2 separate regions of the Homo sapiens genome follow, and region 1 is linked to region 2. Evidence: promoter capture Hi-C in 16 types of primary human blood cells and fetal thymus (Javierre and others, 2016). All regions are on one chromosome and are shown on one strand. The core of a region is centred on a gene start or on the middle of the fragment in contact, and the rest is flanking DNA. Distances in the headings are between cores, read along the strand shown.

What was found. Contacts are between HindIII fragments. The CHiCAGO score rates a contact against its expected background, and 5 or more counts as called.
Region 1: a fragment that was not itself captured here is called in contact with the fragment with the promoter of ATP1B3 in region 2 in 1 of 17 cell types (endothelial precursors); the score reaches 5.8 in endothelial precursors.

The regions. Positions count from the first base shown.
Region 1 is chr3:141,769,007-141,775,221 of GRCh38, forward strand. It overlaps GRK7 (G protein-coupled receptor kinase 7), which reads left to right. Exons shown (of 6, transcript NM_139209.3): 2 at 5,574-5,674. Among named protein-coding and RNA genes, the nearest start is that of GRK7, 8.7 kb to the left of the region's middle. The HindIII fragment of the contact is 5,990 bases long and covers 1-4,782 here.
Region 2 is chr3:141,872,967-141,879,494 of GRCh38, forward strand. ATP1B3 (ATPase Na+/K+ transporting subunit beta 3) reads left to right here and starts at 3,677. Exons shown (of 7, transcript NM_001679.4): 1 at 3,677-3,944. The coding sequence starts at 3,836. RefSeq lists silencers at 2,572-2,631, 3,502-3,631, 3,902-4,471. The HindIII fragment of the contact is 6,749 bases long and covers 1-5,426 here.

The DNA of each region.
Region 1 (6,215 bases), core at 538-3,037, 110 kb before region 2:
CCCAGGTGGGTTCTTCAATGCCTACATCAATTATCACCTACTCCCCTATGACTCCCAAACATGCCTTTCCCTCCAGACCTCTCCTCTGAACTCCAGACCCTTCTATCCCACTGCCCACCTAACATCACCACTGGGACATCTCCCAGGCACCCCAAATTCTGCATGTTCCAAACTGAACACCTTCTTCCAGGTTTTCCCTGTCTTGGTGAATGACATAACCATCCTCCAGCTCTCCTAAGCCTGGATTCACCCCTTCATCTCCTTCTACCTCACCCTCCATAATCATCAACTCCTGACTATTTTGCCTTCTGAATAGCTTAAGATTCCTTCTGCTTTGTTCCATCTTGACAGCCAGCATCATGACTCACTAGGCTGCTGCAGTAACCTCTCATCTGGGCTTTCTGCACCCACTCTATTCATAAAGCAGCAGCCAGCGGTGTCTTTGAAACACAAATATATCCACATCGTATGGCTAAACACTCTAGTGGTCTCCCATTGTTCCTAAGAGAGAGGTCAAATCCTTAAAAGGATGGCTTAACTGATAATGGTACAGGAGTTGGTCATCATCCTGTTTGTTCTCAGACACTTTCTCTGACTTTGGCCTTCTCTGATCTGTATCTGCAGGGACTCACCCCATGCAAGCTCTGCAAGTGACATTTCCCAGCCTCCCTTGCCCTCTGGCTTCTGGCCAGGCTCTGCTAATGAGGAAAGACACCAGGGCATCTCTCCCCATCTCACTCGGCCTCGTGTGTGACCTCTGGGAGTGGCTGCATCTCCGATCTTTCAGCTCCCACGTGACAGCCTCTCCTGCAGTCCCAGCTCCTACCAGACAGCCCCTGTATTACTCTCCTGTGGCTGCCATAATGAATTATCACAAAGTATTTTTGAAAAACCAACAAGGTTTTGTTTGTTTGTTTGTTTGTTTTGAGACAGAGCCTTGCCCTGTCGCCCAGGCTGGAGTGCAGTGGCGCAATCTCGGCCCACTGCAACCTCTGCCTCCTGGGTTCAAGCCATTCTCCTGCCTCAGCCTCCCAAGTAGCTGGGATTACAACCGCCCGCTACCATGCCCAGCTAATTTTTGTATTTTTAGTAAAGACGGGGTTTCACCACGTTGGCCAGGCTGATCTCAAGTGATCTGCCTGCCTTGGCCTCCCAAAGTGCTGGAATTACAGCGTGGTTAAAGGCTGTTCTAGAGGTAGGTATCAAATCCAAGGGGCACATAGAGGAGGGAACAATTCATTTTCCAGCTTTCAGGAAATATCAGTTGAAAACCACTCACTTTCCTATTAACTCCAATTATCCAATAATCACAGAGTTTATAAAATGTGTGTTACCTTAGTGTTTACCTAATCTAAACTATGACTGTACATGAAGGAAACAGACCAGAAAAAAAGTAAGTGCTAGATTTCAACTAGGAGCCACCTAGTGAGCCACTACACCTGGCCAACAAGGTATTTTTGATTACTTCAAATTATTAAAAGTGGGGCCAGCTGTTGCTGGGAGGGTAAAGACCCTTTTGCTATACTTTCCAGTAGAGGGCTTTTACTGAAAGAAAAAAGAAAAAAAAAAAAGACACCTTTGCTGTGGAAGGATTCAAATCAGACGTTGCCAAAAGAAGACATATAAATGGCCAACAAGCATATAAAAAATACTCATCACCACTAATGATCAGAGAAATGCAGATTACAGAATGAGATACCACCTCACACCAGTCAGAACAGCTACTGTTAAAAAGTCAAAAAACAACAAACGTTGGTGAGGATGTTGAGAAAGGGAATGCTTATACACTTTTGAGGAGAATGTAAATTAGTACAAACTATATGGAAAACAGTATGGAGACCAGGCATGGTGCTCACACCTGTAATCTCAGCACTTTGGGAGGCTGAGGTGGGAGGATCACTTGAAACCAAAGGGGTCAAGGCTGGCTGCACTAAGCCGTGATCACACCACTGCACTCCGGCCTGGGTGACTGAGTGATACCCAGTCTCAAAAAAAAAAAAAAAAAAAAAAGTCAAAACCAGTATGGAGAACTGCCATTTGGTCCAGCAATCCCACTATTGGGTATCTCCTCAAAGGAAATCATTATATTAAAAAGATAACTGCACACATATGTTTATCACAGCACTATTCACAATAGCAAAGATATGGAATCAACCTAAGTATTCACCAATGGGTGACTGGGTAAAGAAAATGTATGTGTGTGTGCACGTGTGTGTGTGTGTGTGTACACATATCCATACATGGAATACTACTCAGCCATAAAAAAGAATGGAATCATGTCTTTTTCATCAATGTGGATGGAACTGGAGGCCATTATTATCTAAGTGAAACATCTCAGAAAGAGAAAGTCAAATACAGCATGTACTCTCTCAATAATCAGTAACTAAATAATGTGTACATATGTACTTAGAGAGTAGAATAATAAACACTAAAGTCTAGGAAGGATGGGAGGGTAAGAAGGTGGGAGCAGGGGTAAGGGATAAGAAATTACTTAGAGAGTAGAATAATAAACACTAAAGTCTGGGAAGGATGGGAGGGTAAGAAGGTGGGAGCAGGGGTAAGGGATAACAAATTACTTAATGTGTACAATGTACATTATTCAAGTGATGGCTACACTAAACGCCTAGACTTCATCATTATGTAATATAGCCATATAACAAAACTGTGCTTGTACCTCCCAAATCTATTTTTTTTTTGAGACTGAGTGTTGCTTTGTCACCCAGGCTGGAGAGCAGTGGCGCAATCTAGGCTCACTGTAACCTCTGCCTCCTGGGTTCAAGCAATTCTTCTGTCTCAGCCTCCCAAGTAGCTGGGATTACAGGCACCCACCACCATGCCCGGCTAATTTTTGTATTTTTAGTAGACACAGGGTTTCACCATATTGGTCAGGCTGGTCTCAAACTCCTGACCTCAGGTGATCCACCCGTCTCAGCCTCCCAAAAGTGCTGGGATTACAGGTGTGAGCCACTGCACCCAACCCGTAAATCTATTTTTAAACAACAACAACAACAAAAGTTGTTGAACAATCAACAACTTGAAGCTAAAGAACAACCTGGGTTCTTTGGGTATTTTGTTTTATTTTATTTAATTAATTAATTTATTTTTCCTGAGACAGAATCTTGCTGTCACCCAGGGTAGAGTGCAGTGGGACTATCTCAGCTCACTGCAACCTCCACCTCCCAGGTTCAAGCAATTCTCCTGCCTCAGCCTCCCAAGTATCTGGGATTACAGGCATGCGCCACCATGCGCGGCTAATTTTTGTATTTTTAGTAGAGATGAGGTTTCACCATATTGGCCAGGCTGGTCTCAAACTCCTGACCTCATGATCCGCCCACCTTAGCCTCCCAAAGTGCTGGGATTACAGGCGTGAGCCACTGTGTCCGGCCTTTTTGGGTATTTTAATGCTAATGTATTAGTCTGCTTCAGAACTTACACTGCTCAAAATAGCTTCTCTGTGTTTCTAAGACCATATAGCACTGCACTATATTACTTCCTAATTCTTGATCTTCAAATAGATATGCTATTGGACCATGCAGAGAATTGGGCATTTTAAAGGATGGTGAGTTTCTTACTAGAAACTTAGCTTTACTATTTTCCTTAAACAGTTAATCTTAGGATGTATTTTCAGAGAGAAAACTTTAAAATTGAGAACATGTACACCATTAATAATGCTTTAAATGATGCAAAGGGTAATGAAAGACCTGGGCAAGAGCATTTTTTTCTTTTCTCTAGGTTACAAAATGGGTCCTAAAAATACTAAAATATTTAAATTGCTTTCTACTATCATAAAAGTTATGATTTTTCATTCAAAATGAAACATCCCTTAATCTAAAATAAAAGTTGAGGCCGGGCGCAGTGGCTCATGCCTGTAATCCCAGCACTTTGGGAGGCTGAGGCGGGCAGATCACTTGAGGTTAGGAGGAGTTCAAGACCAGCCTAGCCAACAAGGTGAGACCCCATCTCTACTAAAAATACAAAAATTAGCTGGGTGCATTGGCATATGCCTGTAATCCCAGCTACTTGGGAGGCTGATGTACGAGAATTGCTTGAACCTGGGAGGCGGAGGTTGCAGTGAACTGAGATCATGCCACTGCACTCCAGCCTGGCCAACAGAGCGAGACTTTGTCTCAAAAAAAAAAAAAAAAAGTTGAAAAAATAAAATAAAAATAAAGAAATATATCCTCTTTTCATATGACAGAGGTTAGTCTTCTTTTTGTGGTGGAATATAGTAAATTGTTGAGTTACAATAGTGTGTTAGAAATCTTGCATGATATTTAATAAATCTGACCTCCCTGTCTTCTAGCTGCATGGGGCATCACAGTTTTCCGAGGTCATGTGCAAATGCTGAATTGGCTGCTCTATACTAGATGTGCATGGGACACAGGAACCCATCTTCTTCTACATCGCTTAGGCCTTTCTCCCCTCGAATCTGCATATTAGAAAAGCAGAATTTTGGACTAAATTTTGATGATTGATGGTCATGATTTATTATGATGATTATTATTTATTGTTATTATTTTTTTGAGACGGAGTCTTGCTCTGTCGCCCAGGCTGGAGTGCAGTGGCACTATCTCGGCTCACTGCAAGCTCCACCTCCCGGGGTTTCACCGTGTTAGCCAGGATGGTCTCGATCTCCTGACCTTGTGATCTGCCCACCTTGGCCTCCCAAAGTGCTGGGATTACAGGCATGAGCCACCGCGCCCGGCCTGATGGTCGTGATTTAAAAGCTAATACTTTTTGATCACTTCTTTGTGCCAGGCATTTGGCATTTAATTCTCTCAAAGCTTACCCAAGAATCAACATTTATTACCTGTTTTATAAATGATGAAACTAAGGCTCAGAGAAGTTAAGTAACTTGCTGAAAGTCACACAGCTAGGACTTGCTAAAGCCAGGATTCAGATTTCCCAAGCAGTGCTGGACTTAGTGCTCTTAACTGTTGGGCCACATCCCCAACCCCAGGTTTCTGGTACGTTTCCCCACTTGGCGCAAGGGATGCTGACTGTGCCCAGCACTTTTGGCAAAGTGTGTGCTCTGCTTCTAATATAAGAATTCAATGCTGTTCTTTAATTGAACCTATAATTACTGTTTCATTAAGTTGGGAAAATCTCTGGATCCTATTGTTAGCAATCACAGAAAGTGTTCCAGCCGGGCATGGTAGCTCATACCTGTAATCTCAGCACTTTCAGAAGCCGAAGCAGATGGATTACATGAGGCCAGGAGTTCGAGACCAGCCTGGGCAACATGTCTCCACTAAAAATACAAAAATTAGCCAGGTGTGATGGTGCACAACTGTAGTCCCAGCAAATCGGGAGGCTGAGGTAGGAGGATCCCTTGAGCCCAGGAGGTTGAGGCTGCAGTGAACTGAGATTGAGCCACTGCACATTAGCCTGGGCAACAGAGTGAGACCCTGTCTCAAAAAAGAAAAAAAAGAAAAAAGAAAGAAAAAGAAAATGTTTCATTTTAAATAGACCTTCAAGAAGTTCATAGCATACATGTTCACCAGTGAAAGCATGTTTTTCCCCAGTGATAAGCTTAAATATCTCTGTGATATCAATGCTACCATTTTCTCAAGGTTCTACCCTGCTAGGCTGCCACCACATTCCTAAGAACCACGGGAAAAGGCATTTGCTCCTCCGAAGAAATTCTCAGACTGATTTTTCACTGTATTGTCAGGTGAGCAAAACTTTAAAAATAATGGTAGGTACCATATTATCATTTTATAACTTCTATATTTTGTGTCAAATATTATTTAAACTTGTTGTCACCAGTCAGATTATTATTATTATTATTATTATTATTATTATTATTAATTATTATTATATGTTTTGAGACAGAGTCTCACTCTGTCGATCTCGGTTCACTGCAGCTTCCGCCTCCTGGGTTCAGGCGATTCTCCTGCCTCAGCCTCTCAAGTAGCTGGGGCTACAGGAGTCCGCCACCATGCCCAGCTTATTTTTGTGTTTTTAGCAGAGACGGGGTTTCGCCATGTTGCCAGGCTGATCTCAAACTCCTGGCTTCCAGTGATCCACCCGCCTCAGCCTCCCACAGTGCTGGGATTACAGGCAGGAGCCACTGCACCCAGCCAGATTATTTTTAATTAATAAGAAAGTGAACCAGGCACAGTGGCTCACGCCTGTAATTTAGCACTTTGGGAGGCCAAGGAGGGCGGATCACTTGAGGTCAGGAGTTCAGAACCAGCCTGGGCAACATGGTG
Region 2 (6,528 bases), core at 2,427-4,926:
TGGAGGAGAGGTGGGTATTTGAATCCAGGTGCTGTCATTAGCTAGCTTCTTAACCATGGATGAGTTAATTTCTCTAATTTCAGTAACTGTAATTAGAGAATTAATTACAAACTTAATTACGATTTTGTAAATGTAATTCCCTCATTTACAAAATTAGGGAAACAGTACCTCCCCATTAGGGTATTTGTAAAGACTGAGAAATAAATCACACTACGCAAGTAGTACAGGGCCTGGGACTTACTTAATTATTTATAAGAGATCATTATTATTACTGTGGAATTCCTAAGTATCCTCTACAGGTAGGGCTGTCAGATTTAGCAAATAAAAATACAAGATAGGCTGGGTGCAGTGGCTCATGTCTGTAATCCCAGCACTTTGGGAGGCCGAGGCGGGTGGATCACCTAAGGTCAGGAGTTCGAGACCAGCCTGGACAACATGGTGAAACCTTGTCTCTACTAATAACACAAAAATTAGCCAGGTGAGGTGGCACATGCTTGTAATCCCAGCTACTTGGGAGGCTGAGGCAGGAGAATCGCTTGAACCCAGGAGGCAGGGGTTGCAGTGAGCCGAGATTGCGCCATTGCACTCTAGCCTGGACGACAAGATCAAATTCCGTCTCCAAAAAAACAAAAACAAAAACAAGATTTCTAGTTAAATTTGAATTTCAGACAGACAAGAATAATTTTGGGGGAGTAGCTATGTCCCAGATATTGCATGGAATGTATACCAAAAAAAATCCATCATCCATCTGGACTTAAATTTAGGTAGGCATTCTGTATTTTCTCTAGCGAAGTAACTTCTCCTTCAAAGGAGAAACTTAGAGTAAAATAAACTGACAGAGAATGTAACTGTAATTAAATGTTATCTGCTCATACTTGGTAGACCAGTGGTTCCCAGTACACACAGGATTTTCTCTTCCAGGTAATGCTCAAGTTACCATATATCAGAGAAACAAATAGCTTCCATGTTTTGGAGTAGAATGTAAAAATTTCACCAAACTGAAATCTGTTGGACCTAGTTACTATACTGAACTAGTCATGTGTTTCAAAACTGCTTACTGAATTATATATTTGTATTTAAATCCTTATTTGGAAAACCACAAAGCACTAAATATGAAAGTCATATTAATGACCATTAAACATATACAAACTAACAGGCTGGGCGTGGTGGCTCATGCCTGTAATCCCATCACTTTGGAAGGCTGAGGCGGGCGGATCACCTGAGGTCAGGAGTTCGAGACCAGCCTGGCCAACATGGTGAAACCCCATCTCTACTGAAAAATAAAAAAATTAGCTGGGCGTGGTGGCGTGCGTCTGTAATCCCAGCTACTTGGAAGGGTGAAGCAGGAGAATTGCTTGAACCCGGGAGGCAGAGGTTGCAGTGAGCCAAGATCCGAGCCACTGTACTCCAACCTGGGCGACAAGAGCAAGACTCCATCTCAAAAAAAAAAAAAAAAAAAAAAAAAAAAAAAAATATATATATATATATATATATATATACACACACACATACACAAACTACAAATCCTTGACAGCAGCCAATATCTTTGAAACACTATTTCATAATATTCTTGTTTACCACGTTTTCTTTGTGTGCCAGGTGATTAGTTATCAAAGCACGCTTATTATTAGCGCACACACACATACATGCACACACACAATGTAAATGAAGCGGACAGGTTTTGTTTCATTCTAAATATCTTTCTTTCTTACCTAAATGAAAAAGCCTGTTATCAACTCTACCAGTATTTTAGGTTTCCTCTAACCTGTAGTTATATTTGTAATGAGTTGAAAATAGTTAACTACTTCCATTCTTTTTTTTTTTTTTTTTTTTTTTTTTTTTTTTTTTTGAGACGGAGTCTTGCTCTGTCGCCCAGGCTGGAGTACAGTGGCGGGATCTCGGCTCACTGCAAGCTCCGCTTCCTGGGTTCACCCCATTCTCCTGCCTCAGCCTCCCGAGCAGCCGGGACTACAGGCGCCCGCTACCACGCCCGGCTAATTTTTTTGTATTTTTAGTAGAGACGGGGTTTCACCGCGTTAGCCAGGATGGTCTCGATCCTGACCTCCTGATCCGCCTGCCTCGGCCTCCCAAAGTGCTGGGATTATAGGCGTGAGCCACCGCGCCCGGCAGGTAACATTCTTTAGTTCTTTCAATCTTGCCTATGATTTAAAGAAGTGCATTCCAGTCTGCTTGCATGGTGCTTTGCTATTTCTAATACTCATTTCATGCCAAACTCTCCAACATGCTTCTACAAATCTTTTGGTGTCATTAGCTCAAAACGTAAATGGATTTTGGTTATTTTCAATGTCATAATTATAAATTTAGCTTTTTTAAGCGTGAAAAAAGCACTTTATAGGAATATATTTTACCACTTTTCCATTTGTGGGAGGTATAATTCATTATTTCTTGCTTTGGTAAGAAAAGTGAGGAAAAAGGAAAATTCATCCATTTGCAGGCTGTTTAAACTTCCAGACAGATTATAATTCATCACTCCAAACAATAAGATGGCTATTACATTTCTCCATAATTTTTATTTGCTAATAAAACGGAGGCAGAGCTTTTTTCTAAAAATAAATAAATAAACAACAACAACAACAACCTCCCCCACCCCGCACCTTCTGTGCAAATTCCTATAAAGTCTTTTATCCTGTCGCTGAGTCTGAGGGCACCCCCCCTCCCGTACTCGTCAGCTCCATCTCGCGGAGGAAAACGCTACCGGCACCCTCAGCTCCGCCCAAGGGCCGCGATCTCTACAGGGGAGATGAAAAGCCGGCGACACTACACAGGCGTGGACCCTCCAACGAGTGTTCCTTTCCTGTGGGTTAAGAGTAGGAGCGTCTGGGCAAAAGCTGGGAGCTTTCAGTTGCCAGGACCCTTGGGAAAGCACGTATTTAGATTTCATTGATAAATTCAACTGAATCCCGAGAAAAATTATACTCCATTCACTGGCATATTTAGAACGGAATTCCCATTGACCCGAGGCTCCCGGTTGAACCCTTCAAGGGAGCCAAGCGAGGACGTTCTCAGAACAGCAGTGCACCGTGTACATTGTGGGAGCCCCGCGCGATCCCCCGCAGAGCGTCCTGTAGGAACGTCACAGAGCCCAGAGAGCGTCCTGTAGGAACGTCACAGAGCCCAGAGAGCGTCCTGTAGGAACGTCACAGAGCCCAGAGAGCGTCCTGTAGGAACGTCACAGAGCCCAGAGAACGCCTGGGGACGGTCGGGGAGGCAGTTCGGGGAGGGGACGATTAAGTTCCCTCAGAGAGGAAGCCGCGGGCCGACTGGAGTCGTTTTCGTGCTCTCCGCACCCGCCCGCCGCGGGTAGCATCTTCTCAGCGCCCCGGCGCCCAGGAACGCCCAGGAAACCCAGTCCTCCTCCTAAGCAACCTGCGGCGCGGGGACGCCCGCCTTTTGCTATTATTATAAACGTGCGTGCGACTAAACCTTCGGATTTTTAGACTTTCTTCTCGCTTCCTCTGACCCAGGCTGAGGGAGCCCCCGAGGCTACTGCGGGGCGGGGCCGGGGCGGGGTGGGGCGCCCTCGCCGCCTCAGGCAGCGCCCCGGCCGCTGGCGGGAGGCGGCAGCGGCGCGGGCCGAGCGGCGCGGGGATTGGCTGCGGCGGGCGGAGACGTCAGGCTCCCGCGGCCCAAGCGGCCGCCCGGCGCGGCGCGGCGCAGTCGGCTCGAGTACTCCCCGTAACGAGGAGGTGTTCTCGGCCGTCCCACCCTTCACTGCCGTCTCCGGGCTGCGCCGCCGGAGCCGGGACGCGCCTCCGCAGCCCTCGCCGCCTCCATCCCCGCGGCCGCAGCTCCTCTCGCCGTCCGCGCGCACACCATGACGAAGAACGAGAAGAAGTCCCTCAACCAGAGCCTGGCCGAGTGGAAGCTCTTCATCTACAACCCGACCACCGGAGAATTCCTGGGGCGCACCGCCAAGAGCTGGGGTGAGCGGGCAGCAGCTGGGCGTCCGGGGCCGGCCTCGGTCCCGGGGGCGCCGGGCGCGGTCTGGTGGGAACGGAAAGGCGGGAGGCGGCTCCCAGCGCCGGGGCTCCCGACCGCCCGACCCTAACCCGGGCGGCGGCGGCGCAGTGCGGCCCCATTCATTGCTCCCCGGGCCGGCCGGACTGGCCGCAGCTCGCTCCCGAAGCAGCGGGGCCCGCGGGCAGCCCGGCCGGGCCGCGCTGGTTCCTCCCTCCCTGCTGGGAGCGGGGCGCACGTGCTGCCCGGGCCTCCCGCCCGGCGCGGCGCCGGAAGCCGGGGACCCCTGCCCGAAGCCGGGCCCCGAGAGTGCAGGAGCCGAGCCCCCGGGCCTCCTTTGTACGGAGCGCTCCGGCCCGAGAGGCCCTGGCGGAGGCGCCCGGCCCGCTGAGCGGTTCGGAGAAGCCAGACCCTGCCCCACTCCAGGGGAGAGGAAATTTCCACTCCCGCCGCTATCTTGTGACTCGTCCACGCTGCCACCCCGACCGGTCGGAAGAGTGCGACTGAGTGTTAAGTGTGGGTGTGGGTTGCTTAAACGTGTAGCGGTGAGTTAATCACAGAAGTACATTGTACAAGAAAATGCACTTGAATTTGGACAGTGAAAAGGCCCTTAAAAAGGTTGGTTCCTCCCGGATTCCTTTTTAATTACAGAGGTTTTCTTCCTTACAAATTTGCTTCTTTGGGGAAAGTAAATCCTGTCTGAACAACACAGGTTTTTTTTTTTTTTCCCGTGTCTTCAAAACAGGAGAGTGATGGTTGTATGTTAGCAGATTTTTTCTATGCGTGAGCTCTTTGTTTTAATATATTTAAACCATCTACCGTGTAGAGTAGCTTTAGGATGCCTTTTTTTCCTAAAATTGTATCAATCTCTGAATGCAGGCTAGAGCTTTTTTTTTTTTTTGCCTTTATACTTAAGTAAACTAATTTTACCTTTTTAAATCCTTTTGAAACATTTTGTTAGTGGGTCTTGAAAGACCATTTCTTTCTGAGTGGGAATAAATCTCGAGAGCTTAGAACTATTTGGGCACAACATTTTTAGGATAAGCATGGAGAAATAAGCTGTGACTCAGAAAATAAACTGTTGGTGCAGACTGAAATGGACTCCTTCAGGGTGAAAAGGCGACTTGAAGTCTTATCACAAGCTGAAAGGGGCCTTGGAGGATTTTTAGCCCAACCCCCACTTTAGAGATGAGAAAAATGAGACCCAGAGAGGTTGTGATTTTTGCCTTGTGTAAAATTACATATGCCACAAAGCCAAGAAAAGAACCCAGTTCTCCTTTAATCCTAGTCCAGCGGTTGTATTATTTTACAGATGCCTTGCCTAACTGCATGGTAATCACTCATGATTTTTATTTAAATTGCTGTTTTCTTTTGGGAACCCACTAGTGTGATGAAGAAATAAATCTTGCATCCAGACTTACATGGGAACAAAAGATGAACATTTATAAAGCTTAATTGCTTGTTTCTAGAGTGTACTAACTTTTTGCTGAAGAAATTTTTGAGTGGTGGAGAGAGATTAATTTTGATAGGCTACCTTCCTCCCTTTCTCCCTTCCCCAGTGCTTCCTCATTTCCAGAACGGAGTAACTCCACTTTGTGTTAGAATGACATTTCTTACTGCAGATAGTGCTCTTCAACCTTTGTATTGTATGACCTAGGGTAGAGATTTTATTTTATTGAGTCAATGCATTTAAATAGATAACATGCACAAATAAATAGAGAGCAATGTGTAAGGACTGTAAAACTAGTACAAGTGAAGTTGGGATTCATTTTGGAAGGATTAAGTCAATCTCTTCAAAATCGATAAGTATTACTCTTATCAGTAAATTTTTTGTTTATTGTAATAATAGTAAGTCAGTGAAGAATGGCATATATAGGTGAAAATTAACCATAATCCTGTCCCAATGTAAGGGTATCCCTCTAAGGATATGTGAGGGAGTCGTGAGAGGAGGCCGAAATCCATATTCAGCTTGCCAGGCTGTGTATCCTAGACCATGGTTGGGTCTGCCTAGAGAAGGGGCACCTTGTTCTAATTCTTGCAAAGGCAGGATCAGTTTGGAGAGCTCTGTGCCTCTGGGGATATGTCTGCCAGGAAGGATTCTTTTTTTAATTCTCTTGAAGGGACTGTATGGGCTTGCTGCCAGATGTCATCATACCTCAGAGATACTATTAACATTCTGGTATATATGTTACTGAATTGTGTATAACATTTTTTTTAAAACAAAAGGATCATAAAGTGTTGTTTTATATTCTGAGTATATTGTGGGCATCTTTCCATGTTACTAAAGATTTTTAGACAGGTTTCCCTATATTCACCCTTTTCATGTACATTTTTGCACATTTATTTCCTTGGTATATATTTATACCGATGGGATTTCTAGGCCATTCATATGTACTTTTTACATTTTGAAAACTTGTTTTCATGTGCTTTCCAGGAAGTTTCTAACAATTTATACTCCCAACGGTATGTAGTGGTGTCTCATACCTTCATCAGCACTGAGGCTATTTTTACCTGTGTTATCTCTTTTAAAACCTTACATTTTTGGGGCCG